Regions from separate parts of the Homo sapiens genome. Here region 1 is linked to region 2. The links are contacts of gene promoters, found by promoter capture Hi-C in blood cells and fetal thymus (Javierre and others, 2016). All regions are on one chromosome and are shown on one strand. The core of a region is centred on a gene start or on the middle of the fragment in contact, and the rest is flanking DNA. Distances in the headings are between cores, read along the strand shown. Region 1 has its middle 370 kb from the start of PHF14. Region 2 holds the start of PHF14 (PHD finger protein 14).

Region 1 (3,281 bases), core at 483-2,982, 370 kb after region 2:
ACAAGACCTGGTTTAAAGTGGTCCACTTTGTCAGAATCTCAGAACCATATCTGAAATTTGAGTGCCATCCATACACAGGATTTCATTCATCATCTTGATGCAGAATCAAATCTACACCTAAAGGCTAGACTTGACCATTGTTCTTTTAAAAATGTTCGTTACATCTTTGTATGCAATAGAGTGTCTGTTCTTTTTCTTCAACCACCTCCTCTTCTACCTGGCATTGGTGTCTTTGAGTTATTGTGAATAGAGTTTAAGGCTTTCTTGATACAATAAACTAGGGAAATCTGGACTTTTTTTTTTTAAAAAAACATAGTTAATTCATGTACAAAAGTTGAAATAAATGGTAGGCAAGTAAAAGTTTAAAAAAATTGTAGCCAACAGCTGAGGAGATGCAAAGGCAATGAAATTATCTTCTGTCTTCCCTCCATTTCCACCTCTGCTTTCAACTGTCCTTTTTTTACTTTAGCCTTTCCCTTGGCTCACAGAAGAGTTGGGATCATATTTATATACTTTGTCCTAACCTGAGATTTGCTGGGTATATTTGCCAATTTGTTTTTGTTGGGTAATTTGTATTCTTTATATATATTCTGGGTTCTAATCCTTTGTCTTGGAGGCACAATGGAAATAACTTCACTCAATCTCTTATATTTTAATTTTGTTATGCCTTTTGCAACAAAGTTATAAATTTTAATATTGCCAAAATTATTAATATTTTCCTTTATGCCTTTTAAGAAGACCTACCAAGTCCCCAGGAAAAATATATCCATTGTCTTATATTTTCCATATCAAACTTCTTAATTCAATATTTTCATTCATTCCATTCATATTATCCCAATGTATGCTTGTATGAGCATCTCTGTTCAAGTACGTATTTATTTTATAGATTTACAGTGGATTTATTGTACACTGAATTTCAAAACATAATACATACAGATTCTTGAACAGGAAATTTTCAGGTACACATTTAGTGCAATATAGATGGACAATTTGGATGATAAAGAAAGTATTTACTTTCTGTTGAAACGAATAACAATATTTGATTAGGTAAAAATATATAGTCACTAAGTTTTTGTAATAGCGTACGTGATGATGCTTGTATTCTATTCCACATTATTCCTAATGATGTGCTATTCAATGGCTTCTTTTTTCTTTTCTTTCTTTTTTTTTTTTTTTTTAGCATTTTGGCATTTGAGGATTATCTAAATTTTTATCATCCTGATTGACTATTTTTTAAAATTAGAAATTCATATCCTAAACTTCAGTCTGACATTCATAATGAGGCAGTCACCTGACACCATTCTCCTACATCTGTGGAGTTGCCCTGGTTTACTAATAAGAATTACAGACAAATATTGTGCTAGATGAATTCTTGAAAGGGGAGACTAAAGAATTAACAGTGTTTTCTAAGAATAAAATAAACAGCCTTCTTGACCCAGTAAATGAATGCCATTAGGTGATTTCTACTCAGTCTTTGTACTAGCAATTCAGTCTCAAATAGTGATGACTTTAGTGGAAGGATAAGGACCAATTATGAGAGACTCAGCGATAGTTCTTTGTCCTTGGGTTCTCAGGTGGTTTAGTGCTGCTGAGTTCATCTGTGGCATTCCTGAAATAACTGAAGCCTGAATTCCATTTCATAACCAGTACTGGAAAAAGTAAGGGTCCAAAGAGGAAAAGCATAGAAAGCCACATTAAGCAGTTACCTGCAATGCTACAGCCTGATGAGAGGCATGAGGTACTGTTACATGTCCTCTCTATTCTGGGCAAAAAGTGTTTTTCAGTTTCAAGTCTTTGTAAGGCTACACTTCCAGCTTTTACTTCAGTCAGAAAGAATCAGTGATGTGATCTCAAACTGCTGGGATTCTGAAATGGCCTAATTTTAATTCAAAGTAGTTTTCTTTAGCATAAAAAGATGAATCATTCAGTTAGCATAAAGTGGTATCTTGGGAGGTATAGGAACATGATCCATCTTCCATCTTGCATTGCTAACTGGTGTCTGTTTATCTTCCCTTCCCCTTCCATTTCAGAGGGCAGCAAAGCAGTTCTGTGCATTTTTAGATCCCCACTTTTGCTTGCCATGCATGTGAGCCATAAGCCAGAGTTGATCATCACAAGGCCACACTGAATCTGGTCCACTCACTGGTGGGGACTGGCTCCATGAGGGCTTGATTAATGAAAGCAAAGCAAGAAAGGGAGTGAGCTATACATCTGAAAATGCATGCTTAATAAAGATAGGAGAGTCTAGTCATTTTTTGTTTCCCCTTATCAGTCTCAGCTGTGATTCCTAAATCTTTCCCCGTTGCTTGTTTATATTTCCTTATTGTAGCGTTTTAAACCTCATTTTACCTTCCCATGGCCTTGCTTTTTCCTAGTCTTTTGGTTAATGTTCAGAAATTACACAATTTCGTTACATGTAGCATCCCAAGACTGCCATCTAGTGGAATAAATTGGTCAAGACAACTTTTTATGGTGATCGTTCCCAAAATTTAAATTGGGCACGGTGTCGCTTGAAACAGAAATTCCTCCTTTCATCACAGTTCAAAGCAATGTCTGGGCTCCAACTTATCAAATTCGTGTAGAGAAACTGAAAACTGCGTTTAATTGTCTAAAATGACTGCTGGATATATAACTATGTTTGCTGTTTTATTAAGTTCTGCAGAGCTTCTGAAGAGTTGTAATATTTGCTGTGAAAAGTGAGATGGTGAAACTAATGGAATAAATGGTTTTAGAAGAAAGGGTGAAATTAAGTGCAGGTGTCTTTCCTGGGAAGGATTAAAAATCACAGAGCCATTTTGTCCTAGAAAAAACTTTTTTCAAAAATACGTCGTCAACCTTCTCATTAACTGTATCACGTGGAGTATTTTCACTGTGACAGATGCTCTTGCAAAGACTAAAGGAACACGTAGCTATTCCTATGGTATAATATAGTATCAGATGGTTTTATTTATGTAATTCACTCATTTTTTTGCATAGATGAATGTATGTAATTATACAAGGGCATATTATTTGGCTTTCTTTGATCATCAATTAGTGATTTTTTTTGGAAGAAATTCGTCCTGATTGAATTCTGTGATTTTAAAATATAATTCTTGATTATAAAAGTAGCACAAGTTCATTACAGATAACTTGGAAAAATTCAGAAATAATTAAAGAATAAACAAGACACCTATAATTTGTTCTCCAGAAAAACCCTTTTTTATTAGTTTTATATATTTTCCTTCTTCAGACTTTAACCTCTTCATAGATGTAATATATTTACAATTTTTCTTTGACAAAAT
Region 2 (3,386 bases), core at 495-2,994:
GTTTCATCATGTTGGGCAGGCTGGTCTCGAACTCCCAACCTCAAGTGATCCACCCGCCTCAGCCTCCCAAAGTGTTGGGATTACAGGCGTGAGCCACCGCACCCGGCAGTACAGTTTTTCTAGAGCAACTAGGTGTTATTTATTAAAGTAAATGAATTAATACATTTTGATTCTGAAAATCTCCTTCTAGAAATTAGTTTTACATAAACACGAATGCCAGATTTTGAATTTCTCTTTTAGATGATTCAGCATAATTGCTCCAAATAAATCTAAAAGGCTATTGTCAAACAGTGGAATATTTGGATTTATAATTTCATAGATAAGACTATCAGTCCATGATATGGTTGGTGTTTAAAGTAGAATGGAAGTGAAATTCCCAGAGTGGAGTTTTTAAAATAACCAAGTTCCTAGGATTTTAACTGGAAGAATAAATATCTGAAAGGCAATGAGGAGTATTAAGCATGGGATGCCACTTCTGCACCTTGAGAAAATGAAGTATGGAAGGATGAGTGGTTTTCATTTGAGAGGGCTGCAGGGTAACTGTTTCTATTTCAGATGAGGAGGTAAAAAGAATGGGCATTGAAAAGGAAAAATGTTTACTAAGTAGGTTATACATTTTGGAATAGAAGTTTCTATAGCACAATAGAAAAGTTTGAGAGGTCACATGGCAATGATAGTTTGGGTGAGAGTGAGGCAGGAGAATAGGGTGTGGAGGCAGGGAACCTAAGGATGTGTCACTCCGACTTCCTAAGAACTAAATTGAAAGGAAACCCCTAACTTTCCATGCCTAAGTAACAAAAGGACCAGAGGCTACTCCCTTTGCAAACCCCCACTTTTTCTGCAGGGCAGATGGGAAATTGGCTGTGGGCAGCAAATCAGACTGATTGCAGGAGAGTCTTCCTTTGCATAGAAGTATCACTTTGTAACTTCACCATCTGCAAGAAATCAAACTGATTGCAGGGGAAATCTTCCTTTGCATAGAGGTATACCACTTTGTAACTTCACCCTAGCCTCTGATTGATTGCTTTTTGCACCAATGTTTGCACAGGAGCATGACCTTTGTAACTTCACTTCAGCCTCTGGTTGGCTGCTTTCTGCAACCAATCAGACTGATTGCGCGTTACTTCATTTACATGAGGTGAGCATTAGGTGGCCAATAGGAAGCTTCTAGAGGGTATTTGGACTCAAGATTCTGTATCCGGGCCCTTGAGCCGCTGCTCAGGTCGCTTCCGTACAGAGCGTGCTTTAATTTTCAATAAGTCCCTGCTTTTGTTGTTTTGTTGCTTCATTCTTTCTTTGCTTTGCTGGGCGTTTTGTCCAATTCTTTGTTAAAAACGCCAAGAACCTGGACAACTTGCAGTCACGATCCTCTACCGGTGACAATATCATTTAAATATTGGTAGTGGCTTAAGGTAGCAAACATCCCTTTGTGGAACGTTTACTCAGTAAATCCTTAAAAAACAGATCAGAAACAAAAACTGGCCTCCCAGGGATTTGGACTCAGGAGGTGAATTAGGCGCGGAGAGGGCGGAGCCTTTGGGGTTTATGGGCGGAATTGCACAGGGTTTGGCGGGGATCTCTGCTCCGCCTTGGCACTACTCGGCTCCGCTCGCCTCCGCGCGGCTCCCTGGGCTTTCACTCGGCTCTGTTCGGCTCCTGCTCGGGAAGGGTGCGCGGGGGCGAGTCCTGCGCATGCGCCCTCAATTCCTGCTGCTCTCAGGGCTGCGCTCAGCCTCGTGTTTTCACTTCCTTTTCAGAGCTGTATCCGGGTCGCTGCTTTCCCTATTGTCTGAGGCAGCCGCCCTCGCGCTGTGCAATTTCTGGTCTTTCGTTGCTTCTGGTCCAGGCTAATAAAGTTTTTCTTTCTTTAATTTTTTTTCTTCTAGTTTTAACGGGAGAAATTAACTCCCCGGGGCCGCCGGGTTGACTGCGCTGCCTGGGCCGGAGGTCTTCTCCGGCCAGGGAGCGCTGTGGGAAGGGGCTCGAGCGGCCAGGGCCAGGCGAGGCCGGGGGGGCGGGGGGTTAGGGGACCGCGGGGCTACTCTTGGGAGCGCCCCTGTCCGGCTGGCTGCGCGCCGGTTTTAAATAGCATCTTTCGGACTTGTCTTCGCGGCCCCAGTCCCCGACCTCGGCGCTGCCTGGGCTCCTGCAGCCTCTCCCTAAGTCTTCTCCAAACGACCACCTCACGGATTCCTTAGTAAGTGTATCCGAGGCCTCTGCGGCGAGAGGTCCATTTCAGCCATTCTAGAAGTCAGGGCCGGTGGGAGCAGGGCAGGGGTGGGAGAGTCCTGCGGGAAAGCAGGATTGGTGGACCCTCGCCCTCCATGGTCCGCGGGAATGAAGCCCGCTTGTTTTATTCCCTGATTTTTGCCGTTTTTATTGACTGTTACGATGTCTAAGTGGGGGATTACGAGGAAGGTGCAGAAACATCTCGAAAAGATGAGCAAGAGGGTCAGCTTCGATTTTAGCTGGTCTGAGTTGGCGTTGGCAGCATCAGGGCTGGAGCTGCCTTTGAAACTGCCCGTGGAGCTGTCCAGCCCTCCCCACCCTGCTTCTGCACCCCAACCTTCTCCTGACCCCTTTTGCTGAGAACTCAGTTAGACAAAAATTCCTTGTGCGAGGTCATCTTTATGTTCTCTTAGCACCACAACTCTCCCCTGTGTTTGGTGTGATTATGAATGACAATGTAATTTTTTTCTCTTCACAGTGGATCGCAGCTCCAAGAGGAGGCAGGTGAAGCCTTTGGCAGCTTCTCTGCTGGAAGCTCTTGATTATGATAGTTCAGATGACAGTGATTTTAAAGTTGGAGATGCCTCAGGTAAATATTTCCTTCTCTCTTCCCCTTTCCCAGCTTTCTGGAGTTAGGCTTATTTTTAGACTTTTTAAATCGGTTTTGATTAAAATGCCAATTTTAAGTGAAAGCACGTAAACTTCATTTATTTTGTCCATTTGATTTCCCATTTTGCCTTTAGATCCTGTCACTAGACCTATAATTGCTTCTGTTTTCCTCAGAGATAATTAGCAGTCAGGGGAAGGACTTTTTCCAAAGATGCAAAAGGATTTCTCTGTTTTACACCTTAAAATATATTTATGCTTATATTATAGAGGAAAAAACTGAAAGATATCCCGAAGTAGAAAAGTATCCTGAGAGGTGTGTGGACCATTAATAGTCCCTGAGCAGGGTTCTTCTTTTTTCAGATCACTTGACAATCTCTTAGGGGAGTTTTGCTTTTTTTGTGTATTAGCTCTTTTACTAGAATAAAATTGACCAGAGTAAGAGTTGCACTTCAAATTATAGTAGGTGCTGGACCTTGTGGATTGGGCCTTTCAGATGTCTCTGAAGTATAAGTCATGCATGCTTGCTCACTATATTTAGTAATTTTAAA

The links. The method cuts DNA at HindIII sites, captures the fragments that hold promoters and counts their contacts. A CHiCAGO score of 5 or more calls a contact.
Region 1: a fragment that was not itself captured here is called in contact with the fragment with the promoter of PHF14 in region 2 in 3 of 17 cell types (megakaryocytes, erythroblasts and M0 macrophages); the score reaches 7.5 in megakaryocytes.

What each region holds. Positions count from the first base shown.
Region 1 is chr7:11,341,579-11,344,859 of GRCh38, forward strand. No RefSeq gene overlaps it. Among named protein-coding and RNA genes, the nearest start is that of PHF14, 370 kb to the left of the region's middle. The HindIII fragment of the contact is 5,296 bases long and covers 1-3,281 here.
Region 2 is chr7:10,972,128-10,975,513 of GRCh38, forward strand. PHF14 (PHD finger protein 14) reads left to right here and starts at 1,745. Exons shown (of 18, transcript NM_001007157.2): 1 at 1,745-2,197; 2 at 2,708-2,818. The coding sequence starts at 2,197. RefSeq lists silencers at 940-989, 1,500-1,559, 2,540-2,589 and an enhancer at 1,515-1,809. The HindIII fragment of the contact is 4,357 bases long and covers 1,163-3,386 here.